Linked DNA regions of Homo sapiens: region 2 is linked to region 1. Evidence: promoter capture Hi-C in human tissues and cell types (Jung and others, 2019). All regions are on one chromosome and are shown on one strand. Each heading gives the region's core, a stretch centred on a gene start or on the middle of the fragment in contact. The rest is flanking DNA. Distances are from core to core; before and after follow the strand shown.

Region 1 (5,068 bases), core at 1,853-4,352:
AGAAAACTCCTCCAAAGAGTTGTCTATACTGCTGCCATCCCTCTCCTCCCATTCTTTCTTAAACTCATCCGCAATCAGACTTTTACCCCCACCACTCCACCAAAACTGTTCTCGTCAAAATCACCAATGACCTTCAATCAATTATCTTTGCTCTATATACTTTCCAGTAGGGGGGCAAGGGAGGGACAAAACATAAAACAAAAAAAAAATCAATCAATCAATTCTCAAACTCATCTTACATAATTTATGGGCCACATTTGACACAATTGACCTTTCCCTCCTCCTTGGTAAGTTTCCTTCTCTTGGCCTTTAGCATACCACCATCTCCTGGGATTTTTTCCTCTCTACACTGGTCCTATGCCTCCATCTCTCTGACAGTTCCAACTGATCTCAAGCTCATATTGGAGAGCTCCAGAATTAAGTCCTTGCACATCTTTTCTATCTACACTTGCTCCCTTGGTAATTCTTCTCATCTCCTGGCTTTAAATAACTTCCATATGCTGATGACTCTCAATCTTTTATCGCCAGCCCAGACCACACCAAACTTGCATATGCAGCTGCTTTCTTGACATCTCCATTTTGATGCCTAGTAGACATATGTTTTTTGTTTTTTGTTTTGAAACTGTGTCTTGCTCTGTCGCCCAGGCTGGAGTACAGTGGCACCATCTCGGCTCACCGAAACCTCTGCCTCCCAGGTTCAAGCGATTATCCTACCATAGCCTTCCCCTCCTCAGTTAAAGTTCAGGTGAAAAATTCCTCCCTCCTCCCCACACTGCCTAATTCATCAGAAAATCCTGTTAGTCCACATTCAAAATACTTCCAAAATCCACCACTTTGCATCACCTGTCCTGCTACCACACTAACCAGACGCTCACAATGACCTCCTAAATGGTCTCCCGCTTCTGCTCTCTTCAGAGCTGTTCTCTACACAGTAGCAAAAGGTATTTTGTTAAAACAAAAATCAGATCCGTGTCCCTCCTCTGCTCAAAACAAACTTGTCCAACCCACAGTATGCAGGCCACATGTGGCCCAGGATGGCTTTGAATGTGGCCCCACACAAATTCGTAAACTTTCTTAAAACATTATGAGTTTTTTTTAAAGCTCATCAGCTATCTTTAGTGTTAGTGTATTTTATGTGTGGCCCAAAACAATAATTCTTCTTCTACCATAACCCAGGGAAGCCAAAAGATTGGACAACCCTGTTTCAAAACCTTCCAGTAGCTTCATAAAAGCCAAAGTCCTCAGAATGGCCTTGGGGACCTACAGGCTGGGTCCTTCTCTGACCTCTCTGATCGCGTCTCCCACTCTTTCCCTATCTTTCTCTCTCTTCACTCCAGCCACATTGACTTTGTTCTTCCTCGAAAGTGGCAGGTCGCTCCCACCTCAGGACCTTTACTTTTACTCTTCTCTCTGCCTAGAACATTCTTTCCCCACATTTATGTGTAGTTCACGCCTAGCCTCCCTCAGGTCACTTGAATGTTACCTTCTCCGAACGCACCTCCTCCTTGCTTGATGTGCCCCATAGCTCTTAGCATCATCTAACATATTACATATTCTACTTATTTAGTCCTGCTTCTACTAGAATGTAAGCTCCCTGAGGGCAGGGATTGTGCCTGTTTTGTTCCCTGCTATATCCCCAGTTTCTAGAAGAGTGACTGGCATGTCCAATATCCATCTGTAAAATGAAGTGATGGAATGAGGGCCCTAAGGAAATATAACATGGTGAAACCCCATCTCTACTAAATACAAAAAATTAGCTGGGGCCGGGTGCAGTGGCTCACACCTGTAATCCCAGCACTTTGGGGGTCTGAGGCTGGTGGATCACCTGAGGTCAGGAGTTCAAGACCAGCCTGACCAACACGGTGAAACCCTGTCTCTACTAAAAATTCAAAAATTAGCCAGGCGTGGTGGTGGGCTCCTGTAATCCCAGCTACTCGGGGGAGGCTGAGGCACAAGAATCACTTGAACCCGGGAGGAGGAGGTTGCAGTGAGCCGAGATTATGCCATTGCACTCCAGCCTGGACAACAGAGCAAGACTCTATAAAAAAAAAATCGGCCTGGCGTGGTGGCGCACGCCTGTAATCCCAGCTACTTGGGAGGCTGAGGCAGAATTGCTTGAACCTGGAGGTTGCAGTGAGCTGAGATCGCGCCATTGCACTCCAGCCTTGGCAACAAGAGCGACGACACTCCGTCTCAAAAAAACAAAAAACAAAAACAAAAACAAAACAAGAGTTGAAATCAAGAAGGGAATCGTGCCTTGGACAAGAACAGGGGTGCCTCTTTCACTGCTCCTGATAAGAATGGATTCAGACATGTTTGTAGGTAGAAATTTAAGAATTCCCCTCTTGATTGCGTCTGATTTCTCTGGGAAATAGAAGAGAAGGAAGGACTTGAGGAGAGTAGCGATGGAGAGAGAGATCTATGGTGAAGATGGGAGGAGTTAACGGCAGCTGCAAGGGTTGATGGAGCAGCTGAAGTTGAAAACCTGGATTCGCCTTGGTACCCAGCTACCTGGTTGTGCGATTTTCCTCATCAACATCGGGGGAGTCGGGAGAAGGTTACATAAAAGGAATGGGAGCAGCAAAAATTCAAGTTTTGTCTCGGCTTTTTCTTGAAAAGACCAAAGAGAATTCTTTCATTGACTCAGTGCCTCCGTTTACCCACTCAGGCATTCATCACTAATCACTGGTCCCATGAAAGTAAAATGAGCGGAGAGTGTCTTTGACAGCAGAGAAAAAGAGAAGAGGCTGAGGAACAGGACCTCCCCCAGCCCAGTGAGAAGGGGAGTGGGGGACGTTTAGCCTTCCCTAAAAACTGAAAGTTGATACGCCCCAGGGCTCAAGTTCCGAGCCTTCTCCCATGACGCCTCTTCTTTCCCAATACCTTCCAGCTGCCCCGTCGTGTGACATTCCAGTCCACCTCTGTTCCTGCTCCACCCGCTCCAAACTCGCGTGCTTTTCCTCCACGTGGTTCTCTGTGTATATCGGTTGCCTGGGTGGCCCCAGCCGGAGGCCGGGCTCTAATGACGCCACAGTAGGAACAAGCCAATAGCCGTGACGCGACTCAGTGACGCGAGACGCGGGGTGTGGCTCTGCCGGCCCAGGCGCGATGAGGCGGCTGCCCGCTGGGTGGCGCCGATTTCCCGGGGAGGTCCCTTCTGGGCCCCCGGCGGAGGTGGGAGAGAGTCAGGCAGGAGCCGAGGCCGGGGAGCCCTCTTCGTCAGCTGGTGCTCACTGCGCCGCGCCAGCGCCAGCCGGGACTCACCCGCAGCTCCATGCTTGTGCCCGGTTCGACTCGTCCATACTCCAAGAAGAGGCAGGTACGTGCCACCTGTCGGGGATCCGGGAGGGGGGATTCGGGGATCAGTGCCGGTTTGGAGCTCAGAAAGTAAGGTGTCCACGACATTCTGGGCAGAGTGGACACTAGAAATATAGGGAGAGAGCCGGCTGTGCAGGGACGCTCCAGCTGTGTCTGCCAGTTGTGTGAGGGCTGCCTGCTGACAGCCCAGGGTGCCAGGAAGAGCCAACTGTGTGCTGATCAGTGTATTCTAAGGAAATGCTGCTTTGGCGGGTCCTCCTCGCTGTGCCCCGTGTATATCGGTGGTATGTGGCCTGAGCGACACTGACAAACCCCCTCCCCACGTGTGCGTGCAGCTCACTCGCTGCTCTTAAAGCTCCCCGGTCAGTTTGCTAAAGGGGGTTAGGGGCGGGGGTTGGGCAACAATTAAGCGGAAGGGGAGATTTTCCACCAATCCCAAACCAGAAAGAGGCAGCTTTGAAATTCTCACCAGTCCCAAACCAGAAGCAGGCACGCGGTGCTCCGGAGAGAGCAACTTCTCAACAGTCAAGGGAAGCCCTAGCCAACCCATTCTAGCCCTTCCCTGAAGAGTGAACATCCTACCTCCTGACCTGGCTGCCTTTAGAATGGGACTGAGCTGGAGGTAGTGGTAGGGGCTGCTCACCTCCCCTGGAATGGGCATGAGAACATCCCCCAGATGGACCCCCGTAAAGCAGAGGAAAGGAGAGCTGATTGGGCTAAGGTCGAGGCAGGCCCCCTCCTTTGATGCTGTAGATGCATGTCAGACTGGAGTCAGAATGAGGACTGGAATGAGGGCGTCCTCTGAAGTGCATCATTAGGACCTGGGCTGAGTCAGTAGCCTGTGCTAAGACAGGGTGGAGGCACCAGGCTGGGTACTCCCAGTCCTCGGGGAGAGCCATCGAGAAACGTCCTGGGAGCAGACAAGTGCACCAAGGCCAGAGAGGCTAAGAACCCCGTTCCTTCCTCTTGTGACCCTGCCCAGCCCGGCTCTGTGGCCCTGGAATCCTGAGCCCTCCCACAGGTAGAGTGGAACCACCCCAGAGGGGCCAAGCATTCTCCTGGTGGCCTGGGGGAAGCTGCACTTGCCGTATTTTTCTAGGCAAAGGGGGAAGGAGCCCAGATGGGCTTGGCCTTTCTCTGCTTGGTGGACTGGACGTCTAGGAAGATGGCAAGCCTTGTTTGCCCTTCCCAGTTATGGGACATGGTCAGTTCAGAAAACCAAGGGACTGTTCTCTGGCATTAGAAAGGCACACTTCCGGCCGGGAGCAGTGGCTCAAAGTGCAGTAATCCCAGCACTTTGGGAGGCCAAGGCGGGCGGATCACAAGGTCAGGAAATCGAGACCATCCTGGCTAACACGGTGAAACCCCATCTCTACTAAAATTACAAAAAAATTAGCCGGGCGTGCTGGCGGGAGCCTGTAGTCCCAGCTACTCGGGAGGCTGAGGCAGGAGAATGGCGTGAACCCAGGATGCGGAGCTTGCAGTGAGCCAAGATCGCGCCACTGCACTGCAGCCTGGGCGACGGAGACTCCGTCTCAAAAAAAAAAAAAAAAAAAGAGAAAGGAACACTTCCCCAGGAGTAACCCTCCTTTTCTCCCTAGGAAGGTTCACCTGGTAAGGCGCTATTATTAATAATACCACTAATTATAATAAGAAGTGGAAGTATTCAATATAATCATCAATGTTTATTGAACTCTATGGGCCATGAAATTTACAAATATTATTTTATTTAATCCTCACAACTGAGATA
Region 2 (5,606 bases), core at 134-2,633, 340 kb before region 1:
GGGGGCAGAAAAATCAAAGCCCTTCCCCAGGGTTGTGGCTGAGGACTGGGAGTTGACTTCAGACAGTCCCTGTGCAGATTGTCCTCTCGAGGGTCACCCAGGGTGATGCTCCTCCCAGCACACCCTGACCCTGCAGGTCACCATGCAGGCTCAGGCCTCACAGACTCTCTTGCTTAATTAGGAAGGTAATTCGGCTGCAAAACAGTCATCTGATCTGTGTCGACGCCAAAGCGAAATTCCTCCTAGACCCTCCGCTGTTCTAGATTATCCATGCTCCGTTAGCTTGAATTACCGCGCGGCCTCTGTGGCCCAGACACAAGCCAGAGCTATGTGATCAGCTCCTGGGGCTGGATCTGCCCTGCACCTAGGAAGTGCTTGGAAGCAACAGGAGGAAGGAGGGCATAGGACCTGCCTGACTCCCATCCAAGCCGGAGCATTGCCCAGCCAGCACGAAGGGACCAGCATTGCCCAGAGCCCCCCTACCCCCGGGCCTGCAGGTGCCTGCCGGGCTCCCAAGCTTAGCCACTTTTATGTCCCTCTCCTCTGCCCTCTGGGACCGGGCCCCTTTGAGGGTTTTGAATCAGTGGCAGAGGCTTTCTGCAGCAACTCCTAGGCATAAATTGGAGCGGAGGCAGGGACAGGCATCTCCCTGAGTGTAAATAACACTGTAAATAACACTGGAGCGGAGCAGCCACACTGCACTGGATTATTTTATCGTGATTGCCCACCTCCCCCACCCCCTGAACTGTCCCAATCTCATTGGCCTAGATTGCTGCATCTCTCAGAATGATGGAGGGGCTGCCTCTCCCTTCCCGGGCAGGGTGGCCAGCCCTGCCGTTGAGGCACCCTCCTACCCAGCAACTTCCCAGATTTATTCCCTGTCTTTATGGTGCCTGGAGAGTCATCAGTGTCCTGGGCCGGCAGAGCACTCTGATGGTCTCCACTGGCGTGATGGATAGGCCTTTGGGGGAACGTGTGCGACAGCCCCCTGCTCCCGGCCTGCCTCTGCCCTGACCACAGCACCGTTCCCCACCCTCCCAGGGGTCAGATGATGGGCCTCGTGGCCAGTCCTGAAGGGGCGGTGATGATGGAAGAGGGAGAGAGCATCAGTCCTCGGCGCCCACCTCTCAGTGCTGCTGCAGAGTCTTTCTGGCCTCCTCCCCAAGCTCTGCTCACAAACACCCTTCCCAGGAAATATCCCCATTACCCTCTCTCATCTCCCATCACTCCATTACTGCTAGCCCCTCGGCACTTGTGTACACAGTTTGCGCTGTAATGATAATCTGTGCTGGTTTATGTGTTTCTTTACAAGTGTTTTTATGTCCTCTGTGTGTGTATGAGGAAGGTTTATGGTGTGTGTGCGTGTATGAGGTCACGTGCTGTGTGTGTGTGCGTGCGTGCGTGCGCGCGCGTGTGCACGCGCCTGCTTCTGATTAGACTCTGATCGCCATCTTCTCCCACACACAGGTAGGGGGCCCTCACCCCCCTCCTGGGGTTGGGGGCACAGCCTGGCTACTAAGGGTGGGTGGAGAAGGAGGGGGAGCCAATCAAAGATGATGACTGTCCGGGCAAGGTCTACACTGCCCCCCAGCCGCCAGTTAGAGAACCGGCGAAGGTCAGTCTTAGATCATTGTTTTGTCTACAGGGTCACAAACAACTAGTTTGACTATTTTTCCCCAAGAAATTGACTGAACCCAGTGGTTATTTTGGAGTCAAATGATCTCAGTCTTTTATGACTTACCTGTGTCAGCGGGTGTATCTGTGTCTTCTCTAAACAAGTTCCCCTAGCTGTACAATGGGATGAGATGATAAGAGGCTGGAAGGGGCGAATAACATATGTGGTGTGCTTAGCACAAGCAATAATTTGCTTGATCCAGGGAAAGCCTTCGCACCGCTGGACTGTTGTGAGCTACCACTGGGAGGGACTCCCAGTCTGGAGAAGGAGGGTCCGTTCCCTGGGGCTGGGGAAGCCAGGCCCAGGAACCCTCCTGGCTGTGTGTGCCCCAGAACGCTGTGGGGAGCCCCTCTGCTGGGCTCCTGTGACTTCTCCAGGGTGGTCAATGCAAGCAGAGTATGTCTTAGTCTCAGGCCCCTGGGCTACTGGAGATCCGCCCCCCCAACCCAGATGATCACCTGGGCAGGTGCCTCCTGTGCTCCCTTCTGAAAGGAAAGCAAGGGTTTCACTCAAGGTGCAGAATTCTGGCTGCCCCAAGCGCCCAGTGCCAGTCCCTGTAGGAATCCCACTGCCCTGGATGTGTTGTGGGAGAGGCAGACAGGTTCATCCTGGCATTCACTCGACATGTGCCAGGCACAGAGGTGGGAGCTGTAGACAGCAACAAACATAATATCCAGTCCAGCACTGCATGGCATCCACGCTCTGACCTCTGACCTCACACACAGCAGGTGATCCCTGAGGGTGTCAGCTCTTTCAAGCAGGAATGCTAGTCGGGTTGAGGCCTGGGTGGATGGTGGAGAGATGGAGCTAGGGCCTTGTGGGTCAGGCCTCAGTCTCTTTAAGCCATCCTGTTTGGACGTGAAGGGACAGTGACACTAGGCAGGGGCCTGCATTCTCCTTCATTCTGCCAAGATGTGTTAAACACCTGAGCCCACTGGGCACAGTGGCTCATACCTATAGTCCTAGCACTTTGGGAGGCCGAGGCGGGTAGATAACCTGAGGTCAGGAGTTCGAGACCAGCCTGGCCAACATGGTGAAACCCTGTCTCTACTAAAAATACAAAAATTAGCCAGGCATGGTTATGGGCACCTGTAATCCCAGCTACTCAGGAGGCTGAGGCAGGAGAATCACTTGAACCCAGGAGGCGGAGGTTGCACTGAGCCGAGATCACACCATTGCACCCCAGCCTGGGCAACAAGAGTGAAACTCCATCTTAAAAAAAAATAAAAATAAAAAACTAACCTGAGCCCACTTGTTCCTCTCCCAGACCCAGGTCTGGAAAGAGCCTCCCAGCTGGGCCTGCAGCTGAAGGTACCTCCCTGCCCTGCAGGGGAAGGTGGAGAGGATGTCAGAGAATCCTGGAGTCTTAGCATTGGAAGGGAAATCAAATGCTGTAGCACCCCATTCACTTCCTAAAACCCCTAACCACATTCTGGCCTGTTGGTCATCCTCCAGCTGCAGCTGAATCCCTCCACTGACAGGGTACTCACCACCCTCCATGGAAGCCAGGACAGCCCTGACTGCCCCCAGCTCCCCCTTCCCCCTGAAGCTCCCTCCCATTAGTGTTGGAATCGCATGGAGCTCATGTGATCCTGCAGGCATTTACAGACAGCCTCGGCCCCCGTCTCACCTCTCCTGAGTCTCACACACCTCACCATCTCAGGTGCTCCCCTCAGATCCCCAGTAACAGCTCCATATGTGGGCTGCCACGCCCAGGGATGTCAGCCTAGGATTCCCAGCCACCACAGCTGTCCCAGATCTAGGAGGAGGCAGTGTGGGTGGGCCCTCCAAGCTTCCCCACCTCCCTCTATCCCTTTCCCACCCCCACCCCCTTCCCACCCCTGTTTTCCTTAGGATTAATGATAAATTTCAGTGAAAGATCCGCTTATCTCCAGTAGGAATTAAGGAATTAAGTTGGCGATGGGGAGAGAGGGGACAGGGAGAGGGAGCATACTGCAGAGGGTCAGGATGCAGAGGGACCGTGGGCAGGACAGGACAGGGCAGGGGACAGCGGGGATGTGGAGCATTCCCCTCTGCCTGCATCAGTTCACCCTGCGGTGGGCTGGGCTGTGCTCCCCACCTGCCTGCACCGCCATGGGGGATGGATGTGGGGCTGCTTGGGGATGGGTGTGGTGACTCGTGGAAGGAGGTACATCACAGGGATCCTGCAGGTGGGGTGACCTGGCAGCCTCCCGTGTCACCTGTTGCTGCTTCGTGCCATGGTGCAGTGGCTCTGTGGCATGTCATGGCCCTGGGAGGGCGAGCCACAGCATGTGTCAGGGTGAGGCACCCCGCTTTTGGCATTGGGATACAGAGGCACATTCTGCAGTTGGAAGTCCAGGGGCCACCACCCCACAGGTGGCTCATGAGTGCCATCCAGGCTCTAACACAACCCCCAGGCAGGCCCTGGCTGCCCCTCAATAGGGGCCCACCCAGAGGCTGCCGCTCCTGCCTCTTTGCTTCTTTGGTGGGACTGACTGAGTTGGGGTTCCTGCAGCAATGGCTGAAAGAATCTCTTACCCCTGGAGAATCTGAGCTTCGATGTACCCTCAGAGCAACTCAGAAGCCTCTGTCCTGAATACCAAGGGGGGGGCCACTCAGGGTCTGCAGCATCCCTTGCCCCCAAAGCCCAGGAGACTCTGTTTAGAGTTTCTCCCCAAGTCCCCAGGCTTGCTGCTCCTTGGCACCCCCCTGGCATCAGACATCTCACTGGCAAGCAACGCCGGGCCCAGGACTGTAGCCCCAAACAGTGCCTCCCCTCGCCGAACTCTGAGGCTAACCCAGGAGAGATAGGAGCTGCCCTCCAGAGGGCGGGGGGTGAGGAGGTGAGAAGTGAAGACTGGGTGGGCCAGAGGACATGACTGCCCCTCAGGTCATCCAGGCCAAGCTTCCTGCCCCAAATAAGTTTCAATCACTGCGGTCCCATTCTTTCCTGTCACCCCCAAGGCTGAGAGTAGCGGTTGGTGTTCAGTAGCAGCCACCAGAGCACCTGGAGATAAGAGGAGATAAGGGCAAGGCTGGGCAGAGACAGTCACAGTCTGGGGTAAGGGTGGGGAGGGGGCAGGGGAAGGGGGGAGACGGGGCACGTTGGGGGAGCTCAACACTCTGGAAGCTAGGGGAGGCCAGGAATTGGGGCCTCAAGTCCAGGAGTCAAACTGGTTAATAATTAGTGACTCTGGTTAATAAATCATGGATGGTTTTTTCTTCCTAATTTCAGCTTCTCCTTCCACCCCACAACCCTAGAGATCCTTCTAGGCTCTGCCCAGGCCTCAGAAAAGAAGCCCCCACACCTACCCCTGCCCTGGGCTGTCACCTCCCAGGCAAGATTCACCCTCTGTCCCTCCACAGCCCTCCATAGGCCTCTGCCCCCTCCCCCAGCTGGTTTCTGGTCTCCAAAGCCAGTGTGGTACTTAATCTCCAAGAGAGATTAGTGACCTGCTTTCACCACCCTCCCCCACAGGCTGCTTGGATGCCCCTAAATATTCCCTGCTGGAAGGGCAGGCCCCCATGGCCACCCAGAGAGCGTCTCCAGGTGCCCTCCTTGACGGTGCCACCCGCCCCACCCATTGACTCACTTGGCTGCAGGTCCTTTCTGCTGGCCAGAAGGTGTCATGGAGCACCTGTGGGTAACTGCCCAAATGCTTTAGGTGAGGTCAGTCAGCAGATGTTCTTTGGGCATCTACTATGTGCCAGGCACTATGTGTCAAGAAAAAAAATACTTTAAGCAACTGGAATTGAGGTTAAAGGCTGATGCACGTGAGCGGGGACCTGAAGACCAGGAGACTCCAGGACTGGCAGTTTAGGGTGAGGAGAAAAGGGGATGCTGGGCATTTTTCATCTCTAACTCCGGGATGCTTCCGTTAAAGGTCAGGCTGTTTTCTGGGTTTCTGTCCCTTTTGCAAGATTGCGCCAAGGGCAGAGATCTGCTTTT

The links. The method cuts DNA at HindIII sites, captures the fragments that hold promoters and counts their contacts. A contact is called where the count stands out against the background at its distance.
Region 2: a fragment that was not itself captured here is called in contact with the fragment with the promoter of USP2 in region 1 in 1 of the 25 tissues and cell types used here (dorsolateral prefrontal cortex).

The regions. Positions count from the first base shown.
Region 1 is chr11:119,379,724-119,384,791 of GRCh38, reverse strand. USP2 (ubiquitin specific peptidase 2) reads left to right here and starts at 3,102. Exons shown (of 13, transcript NM_004205.5): 1 at 3,102-3,319. USP2-AS1 (USP2 antisense RNA 1) reads right to left here and starts at 3,014. Exons shown (of 4, transcript NR_034160.1): 1 at 2,884-3,014. RefSeq lists an enhancer at 3,035-4,024. The HindIII fragment of the contact is 18,363 bases long and covers 1-5,068 here.
Region 2 is chr11:119,712,657-119,718,262 of GRCh38, reverse strand. The region is part of intron 1 of NECTIN1 (nectin cell adhesion molecule 1); the gene reads left to right. It overlaps NECTIN1-AS1 (NECTIN1 antisense RNA 1), which reads right to left. Exons shown (of 3, transcript NR_183634.1): 2 at 5,251-5,371; 3 at 4,338-4,664. Among named protein-coding and RNA genes, the nearest start is that of NECTIN1-AS1, 5.5 kb to the right of the region's middle. RefSeq lists enhancers at 1-334, 3,376-4,016. The HindIII fragment of the contact is 5,265 bases long and covers 1-4,015 here.